3 separate regions of the Homo sapiens genome follow, and regions 2 and 3 are each linked to region 1. Evidence: promoter capture Hi-C in human tissues and cell types (Jung and others, 2019). All regions are on one chromosome and are shown on one strand. Each heading gives the region's core, a stretch centred on a gene start or on the middle of the fragment in contact. The rest is flanking DNA. Distances are from core to core; before and after follow the strand shown.

Evidence for each region. The method cuts DNA at HindIII sites, captures the fragments that hold promoters and counts their contacts. A contact is called where the count stands out against the background at its distance.
Region 2: a fragment that was not itself captured here is called in contact with the fragment with the promoter of ALX1 in region 1 in 2 of the 25 tissues and cell types used here (mesendoderm cells and pancreas).
Region 3: a fragment that was not itself captured here is called in contact with the fragment with the promoter of ALX1 in region 1 in 3 of the 25 tissues and cell types used here (H1 embryonic stem cells, mesendoderm cells and thymus).

What each region holds. Positions count from the first base shown.
Region 1 is chr12:85,278,783-85,281,979 of GRCh38, reverse strand. ALX1 (ALX homeobox 1) reads right to left here and starts at 1,760. Exons shown (of 4, transcript NM_006982.3): 1 at 1,493-1,760. The coding sequence starts at 1,718. RefSeq lists a silencer at 1,375-1,669. The HindIII fragment of the contact is 12,363 bases long and covers 1-3,197 here.
Region 2 is chr12:85,206,761-85,210,289 of GRCh38, reverse strand. All of the region lies in intron 24 of LRRIQ1 (leucine rich repeats and IQ motif containing 1), which reads right to left. Among named protein-coding and RNA genes, the nearest start is that of ALX1, 72 kb to the left of the region's middle. The HindIII fragment of the contact is 5,090 bases long and covers 1-3,529 here.
Region 3 is chr12:85,367,993-85,371,032 of GRCh38, reverse strand. The region is part of intron 2 of LINC02820 (long intergenic non-protein coding RNA 2820); the gene reads right to left. Among named protein-coding and RNA genes, the nearest start is that of LINC02820, 51 kb to the right of the region's middle. The HindIII fragment of the contact is 4,866 bases long and covers 1-3,040 here.

The DNA.
Region 1 (3,197 bases), core at 511-3,010:
GTGATATTTGTTTAAAAGTTGATAACGCATCAATTATGTCTCTTATTTTGGATTCTCGACTATTCAAAATAAAATATTATGATCAAGTCCATCCAGAGTCAATACAAGACATTGCAGAATCATTAAAGAAAGACCTGTCAATTCAAATAACGTTAGGCATGCACCTAAGAATTCCACAAATACAGATACCAGGTCTGAAACGCAGCCAGAAAACCAACAACTCAGTGTAAGAATAACAAAAAGTATACGCTCGAATCTTTCTAAATAAATGACTGAAACGACTTAGCTGATTATTTTCTCTATCATTTGCACCTTTATTTTTGATTTACCCTTAGTCAAAAGTTACTTGCAACGTTAAATAAAATTAGTTAAATATGAGATTAATAAAAGAAAAAAACTTGTGTTCAAAATATTTAGAAAATGAGCTTCTACAGGCCAGTGTTTTGTCAGATTTTGAATTTCTATAAAATAGGGGGCAGGGGGCTTGTTGTAAATATTTCACACTTAATTCGTTTGTTATTTTAAAGCAACCCGCCCCTTATAGCTTAACTGTGGAATATATACAATGATAAGGAGAAGTTCTCTTGGAATTGTAAACGTGCTTTAGCTGTCGCGATCTGAAATAATAGGTTAGTATTAGGTTACAAGATAGAAAAGATAGATGGTTTGTTTTGATAACATTTTGACTTGGAGATACTTGGGCATTCAAAGTTGAAGATTTCACCCAGAAGCATTCCAAAGACTCCTTAGGTGACTTTTAATGTGAAGTCATAAAAATACAAAACGTAGAATCTGGGAATGAGTGATTAGGCCGGGGATGGTTTGCCCGAAGCTATTTAGTGTGCTTTAGTGTTTAACAAACATTCAACGCGTGTTGTATTGCAAACGCAAAAAAAAGCAGAAATTACAAATTCACACACGCTAGAAATCTAGGGATCCTCAAACTTTGAAAATATATCGCCACGTCTTGGAAAATTAAAAAGATTTATCTTTACCTAAAGGAGCTCAAAGGGTTTTTTGTTTTTTGTTTTTGTTTTCCGGTTTTTTTTTCCCTACTCGTGACGACAGTGACGTACTCTAACGAGCTGTGATCGATTTCAGTTCCTACCGCCCGGACTGCAAGGCGGGCTCGCAGAGGAAGCGTTCTGTCTTGACTCAATTACGCTCTATTTAGCGCCCTATCAGTTTACTCCAGGAACCAATATTACAGAAGGACTCAGGGATCCGTAGGCGACCAGACCCTACAGCGAAAGGAGAATCGCTCAGAGGCAACCCGGTGCTGGATCTCTCCCTCCCTCCGCCCTCCGCCCCCAAAGGCTGCAGCAGCAGTAACACCGCTTCATAAAGCGAGCACCTTCCACTACCTTCCTCCACCTTCCAGGTCCCTCGCTCCCACTTTTCTCCTTTCTCCCTCCCTGCCTGATCAGACCGATCCTGCATTTTCGATTGCGGAAGGGCTGCGGCGGCTCCGGCTGGGGCGCTAGCGACTCACCGCTGCTGTCCTGACAGGGCGAGGTCCTCTCCAAGCGCACGTGATGCTCGGCGCGGGGCAGGGGTCCGAAGGCCTGCACGCATTTGCCTGCAGACGCTTTGCTGTAAAAGGACTCATTGTCCAGCGTCTCCATAACGTGCTCCAGAGGACCTCCTGCGCCCATGTAAAAGTCACTGTTTTTACTCGGAGGGCTCTTGAGGGCAAACTTCTCGCTCAGAAACTCCATAATCCTGGAAGACTGTCGCGTAGCTCCTGGGGCACAGAAACTGGAGAGCGCTGGGGGAGGGAGCCAGTGGGTGGGAGGAGGGAGGGCCAGAGAGGAGGGAAGGGAAAGCGAGCGCTGCGGCGTCGGGAACTGCCCCGCTCCGGTCCCTTTAATACGTCCCGGCTGGAAAAGGAGCACCCGAAGTTGCTTTTATATCTTGAAACTCAGCTGGCCTCCTCGGGCAGCCTCCCAGTTCTAATGAATATGAAAATAGGCGGGCGACTAACTCCACCCCAGGTCCCCCTCCGCCCCTACCCCACCCCCATTTTCCCCACTTACCCGGGCAGAGGGCGTCCAGGCCTAGGATAGACAGACAGACAGCTCCATTTCAGACAAATGCCAGGAGAGACGAGCCCCTGACACCCAGATTCATTGCCGCCGTGACAGTGGACTGGCATTTCGGAAGATCTTGGTGAGATCGCAAAGCAGTTAAACCTCCACTCCCTACTGCCTGCGCCTTCCTGAGCCACCCGTCCCCACCCCGCCCCCATGCCGGCCACTCACTACCAGAAAGATTTAGAGGCGTCTTAAGAACTTGAAAGGAAATATTGCTCTAAAAGGCTTTTATTTCATCCGTAAATCGTTTACGTGGAAGATTCACATTAATCCGAAGCCCAAGGAACCAGATGCATTGGCAACTGTTAATCGCAGCCGCCGTAGTAGAGGGGCCGCTTCGGCTTCTAACCGGGAGGAGCTCGGGGTCCGGGCCAGCTGGGAGCTTTACGAGGCCGTGGCCTTTTCTTTTTCTCTGGAATGCGGCGGAGTGTGGACGCGGTGGCGATGGGTGGGAGAGAGAAGCCGAGCAAGAGGCAATGAAGCCATTATACTAATGCCAACCAATTCCCTACACCCTCTTCGCCACCCTTCCCTTTGGTCCACGATTTTATCATTAGACCCAAATTATTTTAAGAAAACCCGTTAGGATCAGTGCCTTTGAAAGGCTTTTACTCTAATGCCAAAGTGAGGATTGTTACAAATAGGGGTTTATGAAGAAGAGGAATGTCTGCATATTTTTACAGAAATTACTTTTAATTTTAAAGAGTTGCTGTGGAGTTACTCCGAAAAGCGCTCTGGGAGTGAGTGGTGAGCGCGCGGAGCTGCGGGCACTCGCGGCGCGGCGTCCTGGGCGCGGACAGGTCCAAGGCCTCCATTTCCACCAGAGGGGATGGTAGGGCAGGCAGGACAGCACTGCTAGGTTGAAAGCCCTTCTGTGTGACTTTTGGCACGACTCTTGGCTTCCTAGGAGCCCGCGGCGCTTGGGGGAAATGCGTTCGGTGCCCTGGGCACAAAATCGCATTTGCGTCAGGCACCCTAAGCTAGCAAATTTGGTGAAAATAAGCCAGACAGGTTTTGGTCCAGGTAGGCCTCTGCTTAGACGTCCTGACACAGCCTTTGTCAACACTGGCACTCACAGCGGCCGTCGCGTTTCCCCAGACAAGT
Region 2 (3,529 bases), core at 418-2,917, 72 kb after region 1:
AATGTGTGAAAAAGCTATTCTTCAGAATGTACTTACATAGGAAAACTATGGAGTTATAGAATACTGTGGTTTTTGACCAATTCATACATAATATCCTAGGACTGGAATGTTTATTGTGCTTTGTCATTTTCATAATTTAATATTTGAATAAATTTAGTAGAAATGTATAAGGTCCTCTGGGAACAAATATGAAAAACTATTTCAAAATTATTCCTTATTTTCTAAAAGTCTTCCACAAGAAAAAAAGAAATTCTGCATTATTTATTATAGCTAGTATATTAAGAACATTTTAAAATGTCATTCATTTCCATATTAAGAAATATGACATTAAGAGGAGTCTCATGGAAAAATATGGCTTCTTGATGAAGTGGAAATACCATGGGCTTTGGAGTCAGACCTAAGTTCAAATTCTCATGAGTCTTACATAAGCTCAAAATTTTAGTTTCAGTCTCCAAAAAAATGAGGGTAATTGTATTTTTTTTCATGGATGTTGTGAAGAAACAATCAGATATATAAAATCCCTAGATAATATTTTTTTTGCTCAAGAAATAGCATCTCATGCTCTTTTCTCCTGTGGCAGCTACCTCAAAATATTAAGAATAAATCTTAGGCATCAATTTCTTAGGTACAGATATTTACTAGAGCTCCTAATCAGTGTTTAACTACTAGCCTGAGGGTAGAAAAATCAACTTTAGATATTTACTGTAGCTATACTCAGATGAACTTACAAATAAAAATGCATTTTTTTAAAATAAAGAGAAGATACACAGATTGATATGGTTTGGGTGTGTCCCCACACAAATATCTTGAATTGTAGTTCCCATAATCCCCACATATGGTAGTAGAAATCTGATGGGAGGTAATTGAATCATGGGGGTGGTTACCTCCATGCTGTTCTTGTGATAGTGAGTTCTCACCAGATCTGATGGTTTTATAAGGGGCTTTTCCCCCTTTTGTTCACCACTTCTCCTCACTGCCACCATGTGAAGAGGGATGTGTTTGCTTCTCCTTCTGCCATGATTGCAAGTTTCCTGAGGCCTCCCCAGCCCTGTAGAACTGTCAGTGAATTAAACCTCTTTCCTTTATAAATTACCCAATCTTAGGTATTTCTTCATAGCAGCATGAGAACAAACTAATATAGATATATTTTCAAATGAGATTGAGAAAAGTTAAGTGACATCCAGGATGCAAGAGCTATTTAGTGGCAAATTAGGAACCTTTTTCTAAATCTTAGACTGGTCCCTTTTTCACTATGTTGCCAATATTAAGGTAACTGGTGAGTTTAAAGTTGTCTAAGTTCATAGCTGAGTGCTCTATGTGTTCAAAAGGGTCAAGAATGCTTGCTAATATATCTTTTTGAGTAACAGCACCAGAAGACAGAAAAAATTTCTTAAGTCTCTATAGAAAATTGCCAGTATTTTAGGTCATGTGAGTCCTAAGAAAATGTCAAGTTTATAACATTAGATAACAATCCCAAATAAAGTGTGTTGCCTTTGGAACTTAATATATAACTGCATAGATAATGCATAGTAACAATAGAATGGGTTCACTTTTGTTGGTCCGTAGTTCTAATTTTCTTTAATCCATCCATTGAGTTTGTAATATCAATAATAGTTTTCATTTTTAGAATCACTATTTTTTTAGTTTTCTAATTTTACTGGTCTCGTTGCTTAATTACATTATCAAATCAATTTTTATGCATTTGATTAAACTAAAGATACTTATTTCATATTCTGTATCTGATGAATCCACTATCTTAAGTATTCAAATGGGCTAATTTTGTAGTTTGTATTTCTATTTACTATCATTCTTGTGGCTTATTTCCTGAGATGTTTAGTGTTTTCTTATTTTTTTAGTTAATTTATGTTCTATATATCCGCATTAATGTGAATTTCTAGAAGTGTGAATTTAAACTGTTTCAACTCAGAAAGCTTTTTAAGTGCTTTTTGGCAGGTACCTGGAGGCACATTCCTCCTTACTCTAGATAGATAATTCTCAGCAATAACTTACTATACCTATATGTTTGTTTTCTTGTCATTTCTGAGTTTTGAGGAACTCCTTATCAACTTTCATTTCTTTTTTTTTTGACAATGGATATTACCTAACTTCAAGACCTACTATATAAAGCTACAGTAATCTAAACAGTGCATCGATTAGCCAGATTTAGTCATTTCACAATGTATATATATACCTCAAAATAGCACACTGTACACGTTAATATATGTATATATATAAAACTTTGTCAACTAAAAACATAAATTTGAAAAAAAAAGGAACATGAGAGGAAAGTTACTACTCTAAAAAGGAACCTATATTTCATATTCAATTTAAGCATTATTTAAGATAAAGAGTGTTGAAACAAAACAAAAAGACAGTATGGTATTGGTGAAAGAATATACAAATAGACCAGTGGAACATAATAGACAAGTCAGAAATAGATCCACAAAAATATAGTCAACTGATCTTTGCCAAAAGAGAAAAGGCAATACAATAGAGAAAAAAATACTTTTTTCATCAAATGATGTCGGAACAACTGGATACATGCCTCCCCACTCCCAAAAAAAGAATCTAAACCCAGATCTCACACCCTTCAAAATAGTACCTCAAAATGAATCATAGACCCAAGTGCAAAACACAAAACTATAAAACTACTAGGAGATAACACAGGACAAAATCTAGGTGTTCTTGGGTTTGGTGATAACTTTTTAGATACAACATCAAGGGCACAATCCATGAAAAAAATGATTGATAATTCAGACTTCATTAAAATTAAAAATGCTTCTGTGTGAAAGACATCAAAAGAATGGGCAGACAAGACACAGACTGGGAGAAAATATTTGCCAAAGATGCAGCTGATAAAGGACTGTTATCAAAAATACACAAAATACTCTTAAAACTCAATAATAATTTTTTTTTCAGGACACATGATGGCCAACCATATGAAAGTAGGAGGCACATCTGCCACCAAGAGACCAGGATAGTAGAAGACTGGTGCACTTCAAACACATCTTTGGAAGGAAGGCATTGAGAGTGGACGGAGGGAGGACACAGATGCTGGGCTGAAGTGGTTGGAAGCTGGGAACTCTGCACAAGGCTACTGTGTACTGGGATTTATTCCAGGCTCCCCAAGCACTCCTGGTGATAAGGTCAGTAGAGCAGGTGACAAGTGACCCACTCATGCCGTAAGACCTCTGGAATCCTGGCAGCAGGACACCCCACGGTCCTCCAGGACATGAACTGTCAGGAAGAGCTGCCTAGGGAAGTGGTAGTGGCAGGATTCTAGCCCGTTTGGAGCTCCAAGGGTTTGGTGTGGGAACATCTGCAGGGGAGCAAGGTCAGTGACACCCATCTTCCAAGGGTCTCCATGCTCCGCTAGGAGATGGTAGTCTTAGGGGAACTGTAAGACCTGAACAGAGCAGAGCAATCTTGCCTGTGAGATGAGGCCCGTTTGACCTGAGTTCCCCTCTGTCTGCCGGCCTCCCCTGGGGCCCAAGCTTGGCCATGCTTGCTTGCAGTGCAGCTTTGGATA
Region 3 (3,040 bases), core at 245-2,744, 89 kb before region 1:
TTCTTAAGGTATTGATAGTCCCTGTATGCTCTATTAACCAGCGCTGTAGATTGCAAGTTAGTAGAGAAATGTAGATTTACTTTACGTTATCTTATCCAATTGAGTTTAGAAGAAAAATTCTGGGATTTCCCTTTTCATCCAAATGTTTTCACTACTTTATCTTTCAAGAGAAAAGGAATGAGGAAAGATCAACCAAGGGGAAATGAAAAATGACAAGTGTTGAAGACACATATGTGTGATATCTGTAAATATAACCAAGTAAGCCCAGTCAGAATTAGAGGCTTTCGTGCCGACCTAGCAGGAATACTCCCTAGAATGAAGCCTCAGACTTTTCCAGATATTTCTCTGGAGACCTCAGAGTCCCTTTTTTTTTTTTTTTACATATATATATATGTCAAATATATATACATGTATATATATATATGTCAAATATATACATGTATATATGTCAAATATATATACATGTATATATGTAATATATATACACATATACATAATATATATGCATATACATAATATATATGTATATATGTAAAACGTGTGTGTATGTGTGTGTGTGTGTGTATATATATGTAAATATATATATATATGTAAATATATATATATATATATAGCATGAGAGCCTGTTAGGAGCCAGGTACTGTGAGAGAGAGAGAGAGAGATATACATATATAGTCTTTTTTTTTCTTTTTTCTGAAATCCCTACATTTACTCACTCCCACTTCCCTATTTCCAATGACCTAAGATATCAGAATTTCTATCTACTTCCCTTTTTAGTCCCCAGAAGAACCAATATTTTCCACAGGCAACCTTTAGTTAAGAAGTATCACTGGATGTGCTTAAGTTAAGAAGTTATCACTGGATGTGCTTTGGCCTTTTTAATAGAAAAGATATTTATTTACCAAATGTGCTATAAATATATCTCTATGTGAGACAAATCATATACGATAAATTATCAGCTAAAAATTCTCCTCAGAGGTAATTTGAAACCAAAGTCAAATTTGGCTGAAACACAGAAGATATAGTTCTCTTTAACCTAAAAATATGTAGTAGTTGAATTCCACTGAAGGGCTTGGCAATGCAGTAATATGTTTGTAACCAGGGCCTAACTTCTTGTTATTACCAGTGGTTTATGGTCAAAGTATTACAGTCAGCACATTGTAAAAAACTTTTGGGAGAGTGGCTTACTTAGTGCCAAACTTGAACTGAAATTTCATTTCTGGTAGCTTATCTGCACACATCTCTAAAGGCATCTTAGTTCTGGTTCTGTGATAAACAAAAACAAAGGGGGAATCAGACAAGGAAAACAATCTGTATTTGTGGTTTATTTTCAAACTGCCTTTCTTCCTCACTTGAGTGAACAAACCAACATACAATCAGAAAGAGTAGGGGCCCAGGGAAGGGAGCGAAATTTAAGATATCTTACAGTGCAGTAAACTCAAAACCGTTAACATTCACAAACCATTTTTAAAGCCTATAATTTGTGCTAGAATGATTCAGAGTGATGGGCCTTTCATCCAAACCTTGATATTATGCCAGGACTCAGCTTTTCCTTTCAGTTCCTATAGGCCTCAGGAGGCTAGCCAGCTCCACTATGGCTCCAGGTATCGTTCATTCATTTCTTTTGTAAGCATTTATAGCATGATAGCCTGTTAGGAGCCAGGCACTGTGCTATTCCCTAGGGATGCAAGGATAAATAAATCATCATTCCTGACCCCCCCAGGCACTTATTACCAGTTGAGGAGGGAAATGATAGTAAGACTCTTGGAGTGTGACAAGTGCTGTGATACAAAGAAAACCAGAGAGCTATAAGGGGTGGGGAATAAAAGGATGCAACACTTAGTCCATGGAGTCAGAGAAGGCTTCCTAGACAAAATGGGTCTTGAAGAGAAAGCAGGATTTCGCACAGTAAATATTCAATATCTAGCATCTCTTATTGTAGTTATTATTACAGCTTGATCACCTCTAATTTGAAAATCTGAAATCCTTTTTTTTTTTTTTTTTTTGAGATGGAGTCTTGCTGTATCACCTAGGCTGGAGTGCAGTGGCGCAATCTCAGCTCACTGTAACCTCCGCCTCCCAGGTTCAAGCGATTCCCAGCCTCAGCCTCCCAAGTAGCTGAGACTACAGTTGCCCACCACCATGTCCAGCTAATTTTCATATTTTTAGCAGAGACGGGGTTTCACCATATTGGTCAGGCTGGTATCAAACTTCTGACCTTGTGATCCACCCGCCTCGGCCTCCCAAAGTGCTGGCATTACAGGCGTGAGCCACAGCGCCTGGCCTGAAATCCCTTTTGAGCACTGTCATGATGCCCTAAGTGGAAAATTCCACATGTAAGTACTTAACAAAAACTTTGTTTCATGCACTAAAATATTTAAAATATTGTATTAAATTACCTTCAGGCTATTTGTATAAGGTATATATGGATCATAAATAAATTTCATGTTTATACTTGGGTCTATTCCCTAGGATATCTCTTTGCAAATATTCAAAAGTCCAAGAAAAAAAAAATCTGAAATCTGAAACACTTCTGGTCCCAAGTATTTCAGATAAGGGATATTCAACCTGTACTATGATTATTATTTATATGTCATAAAAGGGTGTTATTCATTTCTAGTCTCAACTGATAAATCACTTCATATGAGAGATGAATAGTTTACTAGGTACAAGTTTTTTTTGGAAATTAACAAATACAAAATGCAGAGCAGCAGATGATAAACCTTATAAAAATCAGGAGTTTTGTGAAGCTGAAACTGGTAGTATCACAACAAAGCAGTCTTTATTTATGTGACCTATCCCAACTGTCCTAAAAAGGTCAGTTGAATTATGATCATAACATTGTTTCAAACAAAATGCCTTTGGCTGGATCACTCTAGAGTTACTTTATCCCTGGAATGCGACTCTCATATTTCCTAAAAAGGGAAGTCCCTTCTATAAAAGTGTGTCACTCATGGATGAGAAGGAAGCCATAACTATAATTTAGACTATTAGAACAGGGGTCAGCAAACTATGACCCGTGGGGCCAAATCCAACCTGC